Linked DNA regions of Homo sapiens: all the other regions are linked to region 1. Evidence: promoter capture Hi-C in human tissues and cell types (Jung and others, 2019). All regions are on one chromosome and are shown on one strand. Each heading gives the region's core, a stretch centred on a gene start or on the middle of the fragment in contact. The rest is flanking DNA. Distances are from core to core; before and after follow the strand shown. Region 1 holds the start of FOXB2 (forkhead box B2). Region 2 has its middle 46 kb from the start of VPS13A. Region 3 overlaps PRUNE2 (prune homolog 2 with BCH domain).

Evidence for each region. Contacts are between HindIII fragments. The study calls those that stand out against the background at their distance.
Region 2: a fragment that was not itself captured here is called in contact with the fragment with the promoter of FOXB2 in region 1 in 9 of the 25 tissues and cell types used here (H1 embryonic stem cells, adrenal gland, bladder and 6 more).
Region 3: a fragment that was not itself captured here is called in contact with the fragment with the promoter of FOXB2 in region 1 in 8 of the 25 tissues and cell types used here (bladder, dorsolateral prefrontal cortex, lymphoblastoid cells and 5 more).

What each region holds. Positions count from the first base shown.
Region 1 is chr9:77,018,382-77,021,268 of GRCh38, forward strand. FOXB2 (forkhead box B2) reads left to right here and starts at 1,274. Exons shown (of 1, transcript NM_001013735.1): 1 at 1,274-2,572. The coding sequence starts at 1,274. The coding sequence ends at 2,572. The HindIII fragment of the contact is 6,747 bases long and covers 1-2,887 here.
Region 2 is chr9:77,129,980-77,132,843 of GRCh38, forward strand. No RefSeq gene overlaps it. Among named protein-coding and RNA genes, the nearest start is that of VPS13A, 46 kb to the right of the region's middle. The HindIII fragment of the contact is 3,942 bases long and covers 1-2,864 here.
Region 3 is chr9:76,897,964-76,900,854 of GRCh38, forward strand. All of the region lies in intron 1 of PRUNE2 (prune homolog 2 with BCH domain), which reads right to left. Among named protein-coding and RNA genes, the nearest start is that of PRUNE2, 6.7 kb to the right of the region's middle. RefSeq lists an enhancer at 88-587. The HindIII fragment of the contact is 7,777 bases long and covers 1-2,891 here.

The DNA of each region.
Region 1 (2,887 bases), core at 24-2,523:
AAGAAGGCAGTGTCCTGTTCCCCCTCCACCGTGCTTGGTGGCCCGGGTGGGGCGCAGCTGCGGGAAATGCACCCGGAGCTGTGCCCCCTCCCGGCGAACAGCCTGCGCCACCCGCCGCACCGGGAGGTGGCTGGGGGCTGCCGAGCGAGTGGTGAACGCGATGGGTGGAGAGCGCCCGAAACGAGGTGGAAAAGGGGGCGGGGGCGAGGCACGGCGCCTTCTTGCCCCTTCTTCAGCTACAGACGCGGCGGCGGCGGCTGAGTCCCTCAGCCTCGGTCATGTGATAGTCTCGAAGCGCTAGCTGCGGGGGTCTCGGCGTCTCGGGGACCATTACAAAACGCAGCCAGGAGAGCGCGTCGCTGCCACTGCCGTCGCCTCTCCTCCTCAAGACAAGCCCGGGAGAAAGGCGGCAGCTGCGGCGCGGACGGCTGAGCCTCCCCGGCCAGCACTCACCCAGCATTCGCAGACGCCCTCTCCAGCCCGCCGCTCGCTCCCAGAGTCCTGCGCCCCACACTCCTCAGCAGAACCTGCGGGCGCTGCCGCTTCAGAAACCACCAAAGTTTTTTCTCCTCAGCGACAGCCTAGGGCTGCGCGTCTCTTCTAACCCCGGCGACGCTGCGAGCCTCGGAGAAAAGAGAGGCGCCCTAGAAGCCAATCTTCTCTCTCCTTACCCTGATTTTTCACTCCAGGAAAAGGAGAACTCCAGCGCGGTCTGGCTAAGTGCCTGGCCAGGGGCCTGCGTCCAGGGCACTGGAAGTCCTGCTGTCACTGGCCTCCAGGACAGCAGGCGCAAACTCAGATTTAAAGGGCCAGAGTCTCTACTGCCCAGACCTTCCTCCCAGCCATCTTGGTCTGGGTTTCCCTCGGACCTAGAAAAAGCAAAGAGGCCGGGAGGAAACACGGCCCCTTGCCACTCTCCTCTGCAGCCAGCTCCAGCACTCAGTCTTTGGCCACCCGGGGGAAGACGCAGAGAAGGCGGCGGTAAACCTGGTGCACTCCGCCCGCGACTGTGCGCGCCAGTCGGCAACCGTCGGGGCCAGAAGTTGCCAGCTTCCGAGAGCTGAGTAGGCCCGAAAGGCCAAGGTCGGAGACACCAGGCAATTCGGAGAAGGCAGGAGAGAGAAGCAGAGAGGGCCTGGAGGGCGAGAGGGCAAAGTGGCGGGACTGGAGGGGCCGAGTGGGAATTAGTGGGGGCAGCCAGGCCCCAGGAACGGAGTGCGGAGAGATTCTGTGGTCCAGTGCGGGCCGGAGGGCGGTGGAGGAGCCGGGGGCGATGCCGCGGCCGGGGAAGAGCTCGTACAGCGACCAAAAACCGCCCTACTCTTACATCTCGCTGACCGCCATGGCAATCCAGCACTCGGCCGAGAAGATGCTGCCGCTGAGCGACATCTACAAGTTCATCATGGAGCGCTTCCCCTACTACCGCGAGCACACACAGCGCTGGCAGAACAGCCTGCGCCACAACCTCTCCTTCAACGACTGCTTCATCAAGATTCCGCGGAGGCCCGACCAGCCTGGCAAGGGTAGCTTCTGGGCGCTGCACCCCGACTGCGGGGACATGTTCGAGAACGGCAGCTTCCTGCGGCGTCGCAAGCGCTTCAAGGTGCTGCGCGCCGACCATACTCACTTGCACGCGGGAAGCACCAAGAGCGCGCCGGGCGCCGGTCCGGGAGGGCACCTTCACCCCCATCACCACCACCACCCCCACCACCACCATCATCACCACGCTGCCGCACACCACCACCATCACCACCACCCACCCCAGCCGCCGCCGCCGCCGCCCCCGCCGCCGCCGCACATGGTACACTATTTCCATCAGCAACCGCCTACTGCTCCGCAGCCGCCTCCGCACCTCCCGTCACAGCCCCCGCAGCAACCGCCCCAGCAGTCGCAGCCTCAGCAGCCGTCTCACCCCGGCAAGATGCAGGAGGCGGCGGCCGTGGCGGCGGCGGCGGCGGCGGCCGCGGCAGCCGCGGTGGGCAGCGTGGGACGCCTGTCTCAGTTCCCACCCTACGGGCTGGGCTCGGCCGCCGCCGCTGCCGCCGCGGCCGCGGCGTCCACGTCAGGCTTCAAGCACCCCTTTGCCATTGAGAACATTATTGGCCGGGACTACAAGGGCGTGCTGCAGGCTGGAGGGCTGCCCTTGGCGTCCGTCATGCACCACCTGGGCTACCCCGTGCCCGGCCAGCTTGGCAACGTCGTCAGCTCCGTGTGGCCGCACGTTGGCGTCATGGATTCGGTGGCCGCCGCCGCGGCCGCCGCAGCCGCAGCCGGAGTCCCTGTAGGCCCGGAGTATGGGGCCTTCGGGGTCCCGGTCAAGTCCCTGTGCCACTCGGCAAGCCAGAGCCTGCCTGCCATGCCGGTGCCCATCAAGCCCACGCCTGCGCTGCCGCCCGTGTCCGCGCTGCAGCCGGGGCTCACTGTCCCCGCGGCTTCGCAGCAGCCTCCGGCGCCATCCACCGTGTGCTCCGCGGCCGCGGCCTCGCCCGTTGCCTCTCTGCTGGAGCCCACAGCCCCTACCTCGGCCGAAAGCAAGGGCGGCTCCTTGCACTCGGTGCTAGTGCACTCCTAGGGGACCCGGCGGGCGTGGGGAGACCAGCGGGGTGAGAGACGCCGGGCCCGGAACCGCCCAAACCACCCGACGGGGAGAGGGCGCCCTGGTCAGGCCGGGCAGAGCTGGCGAGTCTCAGCCTTTGCTGGAACGGAAGGTATTTAAATAGACGAACAACCCCGAAAAGTGGATTCTCCAGTGGTCTGAATAAATATAACCTTCCTGGTGTCTGTGTTTATACTATGTTGTACAATCAGATTAATGAAAGCCAATTTTCAGGTAAGAGTTTCTATTGTAATTAATATAAATCCATAAGTTATGGGGGGAGGGAACGAA
Region 2 (2,864 bases), core at 182-2,681, 110 kb after region 1:
GTATGAGCCACCACACCCAGCAAGTTTCTCATTTTCATCCGAGACCTCCTCAGCCTGAACTTCACTATCCATATTACTATCAGCATTTTGGTCACAATCATTTAACCAGTCTCTAGGAAGTTCCAAACTTTCCCTCATCTTCCTGTCTTCTTCTGAGCCCTCAAACACTTCCAACCTCTACCCATTACCCAGTTCCAAAGCTGCTTCCAAATTTTCAGGTATCTTTATGGCAATACCCCACTCTCAGTATCAATTTTCTGTATTAGGCTGTTCCTGCATTGCTATAAAGACATACCTGAGACCAGGTAGTTTATTTTTAAAAAGAGGTTTAATTGGCTCATTGTTCTGCAAGTTTTACAGGAAGCATGAGGCTGACATCTGTTCAGCTTCTCGGGAGGCCTCAAGAAGCTTATAAAAATGGCAGAAGGCAAAGGGGAGCAGGCATGTCACATGGCAGAAGAAGGAGCAAGAGAGAGACAGTAAAGGAAGAGATGCCACACACTTTTAAACAACCAGATCTTTCAAGATTTCACTCACTATCATGAGAACAGCACTAGGGAAATGGTGCTACACCATTCATGAAGGTTCTGCCCCCATGATCCAATCACCTCCCACCAGGCTTCACCTCCAACACTGGGGACTACATTTCAACATGAGATTTGGGTGGGGACAAATATCCAAATTGTATCAGATTTTTCCAGTTTTAAATAGTTAAATGAATCAAAAGAAAAGTAATACTCATGACACATAAAATATTTAAAAATTCAAATTTCAGTATCCATATATAAAGCTTTGCTGGGACACAGCCACACTCATTCAATTATACATAGTCTATGGCTTCTTTTGCACAATGCCAGAGTAGAGTAAGTAAAGTACTTTTAACAGAAACCATCTGGGCTGCAAAGCCTTAAATAATTTACTATCTGGCTCTTTACAGAAAAAGTTACTGATCCCTGGGTTCGACTCTGTGCTAAGGACAATGTATATGTTATTAAATTTAAGCAGCTATAGTTGCAAAACATTTTAGTAATTTAATTTATTCCTCACCATTGTTTAGTCCTTTGTATATTTTCACATCATTTAAAAAAGTTTCTTCCTCCCAAAGAAACATATCACCAATGTGAATAACTTAAAATTTGTCATTACTAGAATAATAGTGCAAAGATAAGTTAAGTGCTGTCTTCCTCTTATTTCTTGTCTTTTAAAAGATGTCCCTTCCTTTCTTTCTACCTCTTTATAAATTGTATAAAATTTTCCTCTATAATAGTTGGAAAATTCCACAACTCTTAGAAATGAATCAAAAATACTAACTTCTTCTCAGGCAGTGCCAAGAGTTCTGTAATATATATACTTTCCCAAACAAGACTGGCAAACTTGGCCACTGAAGCAGCTGTAAAAATGGAAATGCAATCACAGAAGGAGTTATCAGCCTGATGAATTGAGGCGTCTTGACACTACTTGACATTCATTCTCAATTACCAAGTTCAGGCTTCTTGCCTTCATTGAGCAGCACTACAGAGCACCTCACATAAATAAGTGGATTCTGGGCAGCCACGATGGTGTAAGTAGCATGCTTCACTTCTTCAAAGGACTTGGGTCAGCCGACGAAGCACTAAGCATTAAATTATTTCTGACAGCAGCCACAGGCTATTAGAATGTAACCCCCCTCTCTCTTTCAGATGTTTATCTTTGAAGAATCTACTCACATTTTTATTGCAGTCATAAAGTCTGTTGTAATGATAAAAATAAAAAAGACATCTAACGTGTACCTACACACTGGAGCAGAGCTCTGGATATATTAATTGGTTTCTCTTACTCTTTCTTCAATCTGAGTAATAAGGTAAGACTTATGGAAAGTTCAAAATGGAGAAAACTTGCTGTGGAGTCAGTAGGATAAGAGTCCGGGATGTAGAAGATATTTTGTTTTCCCAAGAACATAGGTGGAAATGAATAAGGAAAGCCGAGTTTTGTCCAGACAGGTATGTTTTTGTTGCAGTGTTTATAGAAACATCATGAATTATGAGATATGAAAATATCTATAGCTTCCTTGAAATTTCACATTTCATAAAATTGTACAATGTTAGAACCCAAAAAAATTCATGTTTTATACATTCACGTCTTTATTGTGTGTCTAACACGTTTCAGACATTGTGCTAAACAGATACGTGTATGATTACCAGTTACGTTCAATGCTATTAAGGAAAGAGCAAAGTACTTTGACAGAGTCTAGCAGGAACAATGTATGTTAGGCTTGGGAATAGGTAAAGGTCAGGCAAGGTTTCTCTGAGGGAAGGACATTTAAGCTGAGTTGTGAAAGGAAGAAAATATGCCAGGCAGGAAAAATGTTCTATGACCAATGGCCAGTGGTGTGTGGTCCTTTCAAGTGAGTGAATAGGCCACTGAGGTTTGGAGATATATTCCATAAGTGTTGATCCCATCAACATGAATAACAAGATTTTTCCACCTGCCTGGCAGATTTACTGATTGAAATTGAGATTTTTGTTTGGTGGAAAGAAATGTGTTAAGAGCTCAATTATTTAATCCGTAACACGCATTGTTTACTAAATCATATGGTTAGTAGGAAAATTAAAGTTCTGGAAAATGTCTGTGATATGGTTTGGCTCTGTGTCCCCACCCAAATCTCATCTTGAATTGTAATCCCCACATGTTAAAGAGGGACCTGGTGGGAAGTGATTGGATCATGGGGCAGTTTCCACATGCTGTTCTCATGATAGTGAGTGGGTTCTCATGAGATCTGATGGTTTAAAAGTGTAACACTTCCTCCCTCGCTCTCTCTCTCTCCTGCCACTTTGTGAAGAAGGTGTCTGCTTCCCTTTCACCTTCCACCATAATTGTAAGTTTCC
Region 3 (2,891 bases), core at 243-2,742, 120 kb before region 1:
CTGGAGATCACGTCCTCGTCTCAGGGCATACACACATGCAGCAGCCCTGTGAGGCCAGTGCTACTACTGTTCTCATTTACAGATGATGAAACTGAGACCCGGGGAGGCTAAGAAACTAAGATTGTGTGACTAGCAAGTAAAAGTGGCGGGGTTAGGATTTGAAATCAGGCACTGGCTCCACATGATTAGCCGCCCGGCTGTACTGCCTTTAGGGGGCAAGAAGTGGGAAGGAGGACAAAAGTCCTTCTAAGGGTCTCCTAAATCCACAACTCATACTCTAGGAAAATCTCCCAGGATCTGATTTAGGGCAGGCAGCCTCTGCCAGGGACTGCCTCACAGTTCCCCATTTATGGGCTCAGATATAAGGAAGTGTGGCTATTGCTGCTCTCAGGGAGGTCAGCAATCATCAAGGATGGGAACACAGACAATCTTTGGACTGTGTTGATGTTTCCTTTCAGCTACTTATTCTGAAGTCCCACACTATATTCTCCATTACTACAAAAAGCTAATTCTCAAATTTGAGTAGATGAACCCTGAATTAGGCCAGACTGGTCACCAATATATACTCAAGATCATATATATTATTATAAGATGTATTTATTTATTCTTGACAGTAACCAAAAGGATAACCTACTTATAATAAAAGTGCATATACATTAAAGTAAAAAAATTAAAACAACTATAATGAGATTAAAACTAAGTAGTAACAATTAAAAAAACAAAACAAAAAAAACCTTAGTTCGGAAATCCTAGGCTAAGAAAATGAAGCACCAACATAGCTTTAAGCTTCTGGGAAGCCAAAGCAAGAAATATCAAATGCATGGAGCCAAAGATATGCAATTTTCCTAGACATCATCAGTTCAAAAAGACTCTGGCATTACAGGCTAAAACAAATAACCTGGGAAGGTCTGGTCACATCCAGGAGAGTTAGATGAAGTGGAAGACCATGATCACGCTCCACCACAAACAGTCCCACTAGTTGGACGAGAGGTCTGACTCAGGATCATGCATGGGTTTACCCCACACATGAGGTCTGCAGTGCCAGGGCTGGACAGGAAGTCTGGAATGCCTAATCTTTTCTCTCAAGGACTCTGAACAGCTTCCCTGCCAATCTCTCTCATGATATTAGCACTGGTCAAGGGGCAGCAAGAGACTAGGCTGGGCTGACTTGGTACAGTGGTTGGCCTTGGGGGAGCCCAACTTCTAGTCTTTGAGCCACATGGAGGAGAACCTACGGTTCCAATGGTTCCACTGTTGGCTGATCTACCCAATGCAGTTTTGCAGAGGCTTTTAGTGCCCCATTCCTCTCCTCTGCCTCTCTCCATTCATGCTTTAGTTCAACCAATATTTATAGATCCCAAGCAGTCATGCATAAAAATTAGATTTTTATTTTGTCTTAACACTTTGTATTAAGTACTTACTGTGTATGAAGTACAATATGGTGCTCCTTGACTTTAGTGTCCTTCACCTTCTTCTAGCAAACAAATATGGCTTCCTGCCTCCTGACAATAGCCTTTCTTCAGATTCAGACCTCCAAAAATCTAAACCTGGCCCTCCGTTTATTTATTTTTATTGAGCCACTACAAAGTGTCATGCTTTGTGCAGGACTCTTGCCTTTAGGGTTTATTAATTCTAAAACCACTCTTTGAGCATCAGGTACTGCACCAGAACCGGGAGATACAATGGTGAGCAAAATGATACAGACCCTGGTCCCTACTCTCACCAAACTGGCATTAATCGAACAAACATGCCCAATAGAGATATAATGACAAGCGGAAATAAGTGATCTAAAGAATTACCAAAATACCTGACTTAGACTCAAGAAGCAGGTGAGGGGGCTCACTTAGAAGAGTCTTTTCTTTGTCTAACCTAAGAGGCAGGAATTATTTAAGCCAAGGAGAGCTGGAGGAAAAGCCAGAAAGAAGCTGGATAGCAGATCAGGTCATACGAAAAGTGTGTCCATTCTCCTAAGAACAATGGAAAGTGATGAGGAGGTTTTAAGGGAGGGGTAGGAAAGGTGTGAAAGATGCTCTCAAAATGATCTCCCTGGAAGCAGGGTGAAAGCAGTTTGCCAGCCATTGTGGTCATCTGGGTGACTTAAGGATAGGGTGGGTTAGGGAAGAGATGAAGGAAAAGGAAGTTTTCAGCTGGAGAAACTGGATGAATCACAATGCCATTCACTAAGACAAGGAAGTACAGAAGAGGACGGGCTTGGAGGCAAGTGGAAAGACCCACCATTGTTCCAGGTTCTGTGCTAAGGGCTATGAATACATCATTTTGGCTTTGCAACAAACATGCAAAGTAGGCATCACTTATTCCATTTTTCAGATTAAGAAACCAAAGCTGTGTTTATCAGCTTGATTATTCTAACCCAAACTTTGTGGGTCTGATTTTCCAGGGTGATCTAGAGCCCACTAGTCTCATAAGAGCTCTGAAGAAGAAAGACTTCCTTTCCCTGGAAACCAAAGTCCAAAGCCACAGGGCTCAGAAAGAAATGGATTTGGGACAACGCTAGAGATTTTGAGTACGCTAATTTGAGACCCCTAACAGGGTAGCCACGAATGACTGTGCAGGTTGTGTACTATACAAACTCAGAGGGCACTGTTCATATCACCGTCCATAGGAATGCTGCCTCCTGAATACATCAGCCCTCCCCAGTTTCCTTTCAAGAAGACTTCAAACTCCAGGACTCTCCCATAATCCCCAAGGTTCAAGAAAAATCAGTAACTAACGTTGCATCCCCTCTCTCTGGTCCCCTGATATTGTTTCCTCTTTTGCAGCCTTTATCCAGATCCAAGTATTCTTCCCTCATTCTTCTCACTGCTCAGGTAACATTCACGGAGGGGTAGGTTCCCTCTACCCCCTCCCTGGAGGAATAATGCCTCCATCAC